Linked DNA regions of Homo sapiens: all the other regions are linked to region 1. The links are contacts of gene promoters, found by promoter capture Hi-C in human tissues and cell types (Jung and others, 2019). All regions are on one chromosome and are shown on one strand. The core of a region is centred on a gene start or on the middle of the fragment in contact, and the rest is flanking DNA. Distances in the headings are between cores, read along the strand shown. Region 1 holds the start of CELF4 (CUGBP Elav-like family member 4). Region 2 has its middle 42 kb from the start of CELF4. Region 3 overlaps CELF4 (CUGBP Elav-like family member 4).

Evidence for each region. Contacts are between HindIII fragments. The study calls those that stand out against the background at their distance.
Region 2: a fragment that was not itself captured here is called in contact with the fragment with the promoter of CELF4 in region 1 in 3 of the 25 tissues and cell types used here (neural progenitor cells, spleen and thymus).
Region 3: a contact is called between a fragment that was not itself captured here and the fragment with the promoter of CELF4 in region 1, in 2 of the 25 tissues and cell types used here (IMR-90 fibroblasts and pancreas).

Annotation. Positions count from the first base shown.
Region 1 is chr18:37,564,448-37,567,268 of GRCh38, forward strand. It overlaps CELF4 (CUGBP Elav-like family member 4), which reads right to left and starts at 1,351. Exons shown (of 13, transcript NM_020180.4): 1 at 909-1,351. The coding sequence starts at 1,194. LOC124904288 (a long non-coding RNA gene) reads left to right here and starts at 1,830. Exons shown (of 2, transcript XR_007066345.1): 1 at 1,830-1,942; 2 at 2,132-2,241. RefSeq lists an enhancer at 895-1,398. The HindIII fragment of the contact is 29,207 bases long and covers 1-2,821 here.
Region 2 is chr18:37,606,416-37,609,341 of GRCh38, forward strand. No RefSeq gene overlaps it. Among named protein-coding and RNA genes, the nearest start is that of CELF4, 42 kb to the left of the region's middle. The HindIII fragment of the contact is 5,513 bases long and covers 1-2,926 here.
Region 3 is chr18:37,513,526-37,516,402 of GRCh38, forward strand. The region is part of intron 1 of CELF4 (CUGBP Elav-like family member 4); the gene reads right to left. Among named protein-coding and RNA genes, the nearest start is that of SNORA111, 48 kb to the left of the region's middle. The HindIII fragment of the contact is 4,893 bases long and covers 1-2,877 here.

The sequences.
Region 1 (2,821 bases), core at 101-2,600:
GTTTTAATTCTTTGATTATTCTGTCTCCCCCTCCCCCAAGCACTCACTGGCAATGATCGCTTCAAGGGAGAAATAATGTACTATAAAGCTCTCTGCATGGTGAGTTTGGGATAAATTAGGGTACACCTTTCAAAATGCAAATCTCGCACACACATATTTTTTTCCCAAAGCCCCGCTTTCCTGGGAAGGGGACTATCCAGGCTTGCCAGACCCCCCACTCCACCCAGGGGATGGCTGGTTCCTTGCTAATTCTTGCCTTAGGTTTTATCACTGGTTCCTTCAAACATCCAACCCCCCCACCCCCAACACACACCACCATTCACACCACAATCAGATTATTGAGGCACACAGCTCGACAGGGAGAGTTTACTGTTACATTTAAATAAAAATTTCTCTTTGAATTTGTCACCTCTCTCCCTTTTAGACGGCTGCGCTCCTGCTACTCTAGCCCGGAGCAAAGGATGAGGAGACCACCTCCTTTAGTATTTTCAGCACCACGGCGATGGACAGCACCCTCGGTCCTCGGCCGGCCAGGAGCCCGCGAGTCCGTCCGCTCAGCGTCCTGGGCTCGACCGGTGCAGCCTTCCCCATCCCCATCTTTCAGGTCGCTGTACCCAAAAATCCAAGCCCCGTCTCCTCGATCCCCTCTCTCTTTCTCTTCATCGGCGCCCGCTGCTCTCTCCATGGCATCGTTCCTATCAGCACCTCGCCCAAAACCCAGTCTTGCCCCAGCGAACAGCTCCCCACGCACCCCAGCTCTGGTCTCCGCTGCCCGAGCGCCTCCCTCCACCGCGCCCGCCCGAGGCTTCCTCTCGCTTAGTCCGCCGCTCGTCAGTCGCCGGCCGGCCGGTCGGCCCGCCAGCCCGCTCCTGCTCCCCGGCAAAGTTGGGAGGGAAAGGTGTACTCACCTTTGTGCATGCCTGTGAACCTGTCCTTCAGAACCGTAAGCTCGTAGATTTTGCCAAACTCCTCGAAGAGGGGCTTGAGGTCCTTCTCATCCAGGTTGCGGGGGATCTGCCCAATGAACAGCTTGATGGCATCGTGGTCCTTCATGGGAATGGTCGACGGGTTCCCCGGGCTGTGGCTTAATCCGTTCATGTGCCCGGCACTGCCCGGGCTGCTGCCGAGCCCGTTGGTACTGAGGCTTGCGTTGTCAGCCTGTCCGTTTGCTAACGTGGCCATCTTTATATACATAGAGAAAATCTTCTTTCCTTTTATTCTTTCTCGCTCACACTCTCTCGCTCCTCTCTCTCGCTCGCTCGCGCTCACACACGCACACGCATACACACACTCGGGTTCTCTCCCCCTCGGTTTCTCTACACCTCGCTCTCCGCTCGCTCTCTGCTCTCTCTCTTTCTCCTCTTCTCTCGCTCGCTCGCGCTCGCGCTCTCTCTCTGCTCTCCCCCCTCTCTCTCTCCCTCCCTCCCTCTCCTCTCTCTCTCCCTCTCTCTCTCCCTCTCTCTCTCCCTCTCTCCTCTCTCTCTCGGTCTGATCTGATTTTTTTTTTCTTTTTTTCTTTTTTTTTTTTTTTTTTTTTTTTTTACATTGAACAGACAGGATCTCTGTCCTTTCCGTTTAAACAGGCTGGACCGGTTCAAGTTCCCAGCCAGACCAGGGGTGGGGGTGGCGAGTGTGCGCGCGCGGAGGAGGGCGCGGGGGGCCGGGAATGGGCGCGCTGTGGGGGCCCGCGCCACGGCGGGCGGCGGCCGGGGGCAGGGCGGCGTGGGGCGGCGGCCACCGCGCCTCCCCCGTCGGCGGCCCCGCGCCGTGGCGATGGTACAGTCCGAGACGGCCCCCGGCTATAAATAGCGCCAGGCGCATGGCTCTTCGGGAGGCGCTGAGATTCCGGGCCCGGCGGCCGCGGGGAGCGGGTGTCCGTGAGGAGCCGGGCAGCCGGCCTCCTCTCTTTGCCTTTTGGGGGTTCTTTTTGTAATAGCAGCAGGTGCAACTTTTTGTATTTTAAAAATAGTGATTTTTATTTTCGTGTGGGTATGTAGGGGGGCTTTATCCACCAAGCTATGCTCTATTAGGGCGCCAGGCGGGCGAAGCAAAGGCAGGGATGGCGGGCGGGGCGGCGGCGGAGGTGGAATGGGCGCTTTTTTCTTCCATCTGGCTTTATTTATTTATTTAGACTAGAAAAGCGAGCCGGCTTGGAGGGAGTCCGCCCGGGGATCCGAGCGCGCATTCATCAGTGTCGAGAGAAAAAAAGCTACATAAATATATATTATGTGGATAAATCTATAGACAAGAGCTCTCTCGCGCGCGCTCTCTCCCTGTCTCTCTGTGTGTGTCTTTCTCTGTTTTTTTTTCCTCCTCGCACCCCCAACCTGCCAGAGCAGCCCCACATCTTCCTCCCGCCCGGCATCTACCGCCACCCAAGCCACCTGCCAGGATGGGGCTGGGAGCTGTCGGGCCGCGCCGGGGGGCAGAGGGACGGGGAGTAGAGACTCGGGGTCCGACCCCCGCCCCAACCCGCTTCCGAAGGCGGAAGGTGGGGGTCCCCGTCCCGGGCGGCCTCCCCCGCCCCGGAGAGCGCGGCTGGTCCCCCGGTGGCTGGCGGGAGGAAGGTAGGAGTCGGGCGCCCCTGCCCGCTCGCCCGCCGGAGGGGGAGGAAGGCGCTGGGCGCGGTGGCCGGTGAGCCAGCGCGGGGGATGGCTTGATTTGCCCTCGTCTGCTTTACGGGTTCAAATAGAATATATTTTTTTAATCACCATCAAAAGAATAAAGCCCCTGAATCGCTATCTGGGTTGCCGCCGGACCGAGACTCGCGCGGCGTGCGCTGCCCCCGCGGGTTTCGTTTTCGGCACCTACAGCTCCCGAG
Region 2 (2,926 bases), core at 331-2,830, 42 kb after region 1:
TAGCTGTGGGTCACAGCCTTCTTTAGCCTGACCTTGGTCCCTTCCAGCCCAGCTCCTTTAGCATGTTCAGGTTAGTCTGCTCATTTTGTCACTTGTCATATATTTTCTTTTCTGTTGAGTAGGCTGTCTCACTGTGTGGGACTTAGGAACTAGACCATGAACTCCCATCTTCTCCTGCCTCTTCCAGATCATCTAGCTCTGGCCTAGGCATATAGTGACTGTTCAGTGGATAATTCTTTTTTTTTTTTTTCTTTTTGAGATGGAGTCTTACTCCATCACTCAGGCTGACATGCAGTGGCATGATCTCTGCTGACTGCAACCTCTGCCTCTTGGGTTCAAGCTATTCTCCTGCCTCAGCTTCCCAAGTAGCTGGGATTACAGGTGTGCAACACCATGCCTGGCTAATTTTTTTGTATTTTTTTTTTAGCAGAGACAGGGTTTTGCCATGTTGGCCAGGCTGGTCTCAAACTCCTGACCTCAAGTGATCCACCCACTTCAGCCTCCCAAAGTGCTGGGATTACAGGCATGAGCCACCACGCCCAGCCTTCAGTGGAGAATTCTGTATTACTCCTCACTAGGCAGAATGCTGTGGTCAGGGGAGAAATTGGGGAAGAATGCTACTGGGGACTAAGGGAGCCCCAGTCACAGGCCTCCTGTCTAAACAATGCTGTGATGCCTATTTTGAGGTTCCTCTATGGTACTTGAAGTTAGATGTCTTCTTGGACAACTCCACATACAGCGTGTCAAGAAAAGCCTCAGGGGGCATTGTTTCCTTAGGAGCAATGAGATGATGAGCTCCTTGCGATGTTATGTAACTTTGAGGGGAAAGAAAAAATAAAACAAATAGAAAGGCAGAGAAAATATAAATAAAAAAGAGTGCAAAGTTTTATTGTCAACTGCTGCTGTCACCTCCTGGAACTACAGTCGTATCTAAGAAATATGTGACATACTAATAGGAAGTAATTTACCCAAGGATGTTTTTGTGCCTTGAATTGCCTTTCCAGCCCGGCTGCGGGAACTTCGCAAGCGTATATGCATGAGAGCCGGCGCGGTGCTTCAGAAACTTCCCAATTTGTGCACAATGTGACTTTTATAAGGCCATTAAACTCATCTTGGGGAAAAGTGCTCTGGAAAACAGTGATACATGGGGTCTCAAGGAGCCTGCGAAGGCAGACAGAAATGGCAAAGTGGTGACCGATGCTCTTGGCTAAAGTGACTCTGAGGGGCTGCTGCTTCTCCAGGCTCCCACCTGTTCGTCTGGTTTATTCTCTTTTCCCTACCCTTAGCAGTGCTTGGAGTTGGAGGGGGTGACTTTCCCTGGCACTATCTTGGATCCAGAAAGCACTGTCTTTTTTAATTTTTGCTGCAATTGGGTGGGCACTCTGAGACCTGAGGTTGGAACCTGGGCACATGGGATGGTCCTGGGGTTTCACTCTCAGCCTAGAAACAACCACAGAACAGCTGTGACTCCAGGGCCCTGGGGATGAAGCTCCACTGTGGCTCTAAGGAGGCCCTCAAAGGCCACACCCATGGCTAGGAGAATCTAGGTATTTACCAGCCTGTGGACCTCAAGTCCTTGGGAGAGGAAGGGCCCAAAGAGAAGAAAGTCAGGCAGAAAGAGTATAGAGCAAGTACCAAGGAAAGAGGGAGACGGGAGAGAAGCAGGAAGGGTGGTGAAGATGGTAAGAGAGTCCAGAGTGAGAGAGAAGGAGCAAATCAGAGCCAGAGGACGGTGGAGGGACAGGGAGGAGGATGGGGAGGAAGAAGAACAGGAGAAGGATCAGGAGACAGCCTGCTTACTTTTTTTTTTTTTTTTCTCAAGTGTCTTCATATGCTTGTTCTGTAAACACAGGCAGAGCCAGGATCAGAATATAGAAACAGTGAAATTGTTGAGAGCACCAGAGACAAGAGAGCTGGCTGACAGGGCTGGTGTTGCCCACGGAGAGAGCAGGTAGCCATTTCGAGCGCCCCTGCAAGTTCTGTTGCTGCAGTAAACACCTCCCTCCTACTTTTATCACAGTGCCTGAAATCCCACTACGATCCCAAGCTCGTTCTTTAAAATACAGCTCCGCCTCAGATGGGGACTGTGCAGTCTTCAGAGGCTGAGGGAGCTGGGAGGGTGTTCTCTTTGCTGAGCAGGGCAGTGCAAGGGATGTGCACTGCTTTTGGTGTGGTTGGGGGTCTGGCTGTGATAAAAAGCCGTGATTCAGGGCTGGGTGGTGAAGGTGGCTGGGCGGGGGTGAGGGCGAGCCTCTCTTGCTTCATCATTTGACTAGGGAGCAGGGCTCTGTGTGCAAAGACACCAGGAAAGGGACCTGAGGGTGCTCACTGGTTGCAGGTGACTTCACAGGGACAGGGGAAGGGAAAGGAGTAGAGAGTCTTTAATTTGTACTCTGGCTGGTGTATCTCTCCGTGTGTCCTAGCTTGGGAAAAAAGAAATGAGCCCTTTATCAATTTTTAATAAATTGAAATGACAAATAATCCATTTAATAAATTATTAACTGAGAAAATTACTGAAAACTGAAATATCAAACAATCGTGAGCAAATGCTCGAAGCAGCGTGTTTATTAATAACGAGTCCTGCTGCAGGAGAGTGCTGATGCTGTGGGTCCTATAGCCTCTGCCCCAACCCCACCAAGGCCTGGAGTGTCGGGGACCTCAGGCTGGGCATGCGCAGGGGTACGCTTGGGTGCAAGTGTGGGGTCCAAGGCAAATGGAAGTTACTTTTGCCCTTGGTCCCTATAGCTGGCCGGTTCACAGACAGCTCTTGGGTAGGGAATACGGACCTGGCACTTTGATGGTCACCAGGATGAAGTCCCCACATTCCTCCCTGATGGTACCGGAAGGGGGCTAGAAGTAATCCTACCCCTGGGGGGTTAGTTCTTTAAATTAAGAGCTGTATCCTCAGGATAAATTATATATATAT
Region 3 (2,877 bases), core at 154-2,653, 51 kb before region 1:
GGGGCGTGGACCATTCTTATGGAATGGATTTGATGTCTCCATTCTTTCACTCACTCCAGGGCCTCTTTAGTCTGCACCAACCTTCTCTTTCCAGCTCTACCTACTAAGCTTCTGTCAAGAACATCTTCTTACTGTTCCTGAGACACACCTGCTCATTCCTACCAGATTGTCCATGCTCATCCTGGTTCCAGCTCCTGGAATACCCTCCCTAGCACTTTCTGCTTATCTTTATCCAACCTGTACTTTCAGGCCAATCCGCAGTGCTCCCTCCTCTATGGAGCCTCCCTGAAGGGTTCATGAACTTCTGCATGCCTTGTCTTGCTCCAGCAGTTACAGTCCTAACTACCTCTCTTGTGTTGTCCTCTGATGGGTCCATGAGGCCCTAATTTTGTCCCTCTTCCCTTCTGTGTGGTGCCGTGTGTGTGTGTGTGTGTGTGTGTGTGTGTGTGTGTGTGTGTATACCTTCTGACAGAGGTGTGGGATGGTGACTTCTGAGGTGATGGCTCTACCAAGTCCAGCAAACGCAGATGCTCAGGGCAAGTCCCTAGAAATGTGGAGACACAGATCTCTCTGGTCTACTGGTCAGCAGAGCACTGGGTCCCTGGTACCTCTTTCTGCATTTCCTGTACCCTGACCCATCTCAAACAACTAGAGGCTCTGATCCTCTCTGGCCCTGGTGTTCAAGGTAATCTGCTCCACTTCTCCCATCATCTGAGGGGTCCTTGACTAACAGCTGAAAGTACGGCCCTCTTCCCCTCTCTCTCCTAGGACGAGGGCATTACAATGGGAACCAAAGCTTCCTGCAAAAGGAACACTGTTTTCTGGCCCAGGGCTTTCATGGAAATCATGGGTTAGGACTTCTTCATAGTATGGCACATCACCAGCAAACACTTATTGAACACTTATTGCATGCATGGCTCTGTGCTGGATGCTGATGAGAAGGAAAAGAGTTTCTTCCGAGAGCCTGGTATCTGACCTCAGGGAGCTCAGAGCCCCCTTGAAGAGCAAAGCAGACACATGAACAGACAATCACACGAGGAATTGGAGGAGACTGAAACCAACCAATTGAGCTCCCGGTCCCAAGCCCAAGGAGGCCTGGGCGGTAAACAAACAACTTCAGAAAAGCAAAGGGAATTAGAATTTTAAAAACCTTCCGGTGATAATAAAATCTGGGGTATAAAATGGGTTAGGAAATTTATTTTTTCAATATATGATTTTTCCCCCTCTCCTTTGAAAATCCACATATCTATTCTGCTTCAGGTTGGGGCTCCTTTAAATGGGTTTATTAAAAAAATCATTTACTGTGGGCTTTTCAGTTCAACTTTAACTGGACCGGGTGGAAATTAAAAAAAGGATATTTTAAAAATAAATTATATAAATTACAGCCCTAATTATAAAGGAACTTTTAAAAATGTATCCAAGCATTAAAAGAAAATCTTTTTTTAAAAAAATGCCCCATTTCCCTGTTCCATTGCGGGAACATAATTTAGATACTTTTAACAAATCCTCATCCTTTGGAAGAAGCGGGCTCTCCAGGCCCATTTGCCTGTGTCTCTTTCTGAGTGCTATTATTATTTGATAACTCTGGGCTTAAATCTGCATGAGAGCCAATTATCTCTCTTTGTCATCAAGCAGGCTTGCTGTTCGGCAGTGGTTTTTATAGTACAGTAAAAGCCTTAAGGAGCCTGGAGGAGGGGGATTTGCAGTTCAGATTACACTGCATCTTGCCTCCCTAAATGCCTTTCCTTATTCCCTTTTCTGTTTTTGCTTTTCATCCCTCCCTGGTGCAACAAGTTCTCCCCTCCTGGCTGCTCTGCAGTGTTGTCTGACCCCGAGCTTCTCCCCAGCCTGGCTACCCTCTGCCAGTGCTTTCCTTGAGGATCCCATCCTATCAAGGGTCTTTCTCCCTTCTATCTTTGGCAGGCCTAGGCTTCCTGAACACAAGTGGTAGGAACTGGCATTTCTTGGCCCATCCTCCAGTAGAGGCCTAAAGCAATGGTCACACTCTGCTTTCTTAACTAGCGGAGGTTGCATCAAGACCGTAACGCTGGAGGGAGACAGGCCTCCCTACTCGTGGAGCTCACAGCTTGACTGGGACACTGAACAGACCCACCCGAGGGATGGTATCAAGGGTGGCGGTGGATCCAGTGCCTTAGCAGTGAACTGAAGGGTGCTGCCCTCCAGCTGGGGCATGGGGAGCTCTGGGGGTGTGGGCATGGTGTCCTGCTTCTTTTATTTCTCCACCAAGAAGAGCCAGTAAGTGCTGACTGGGAAGGACAGATGGAGCTTCGCAGAGGGGCTGGAGGACATTGGCCAGATCCTGAAAGGCTGGAGTGGGTGGAGGGCAAAGGCAGGAGACCAGGCTGGATGAGAGTACTTCATCCCGGTGAAAGCAGGACTTGCCTTCTTCATTGTAGCATCCCAGCATTTAGACTGGGCTGGGTGCATGGAGGCACTTGATGCACTTTGGTGGAGTGAGTGAGTGAGTGAATGAATGAATGAATGTGGATGATGAGGGTCTGGTGAAGGTGTGGAGAGGCTGTAGATGGATTCAGAGGGTTTAGGGTATTAGACCTTTTCAGTCTCAGATAGCAAACTGCTTTTTTCTGGCAAAAAATATTATTTACTGGCTTCTCATCATCCTAATCATAGAGCCCAACATCCCTTCCTGCCCCCTGGTAGACCAGGCCTCCTCCCTGCTCCCTTCTTGGCCCTGGGGTAGGCATGTGCACACACCGTTTCCTCTGCTGGGAGGCTCCTCCTCCCGTCCACCTGGACCACCCATCCCACCACTGTTAAGCATCGCTTCCTCCTGGAATTCCTTCTTGACTCCAAAATTCAAGTCAGGGGCCCTGCTAGCTCTAGTCCTCACTAACT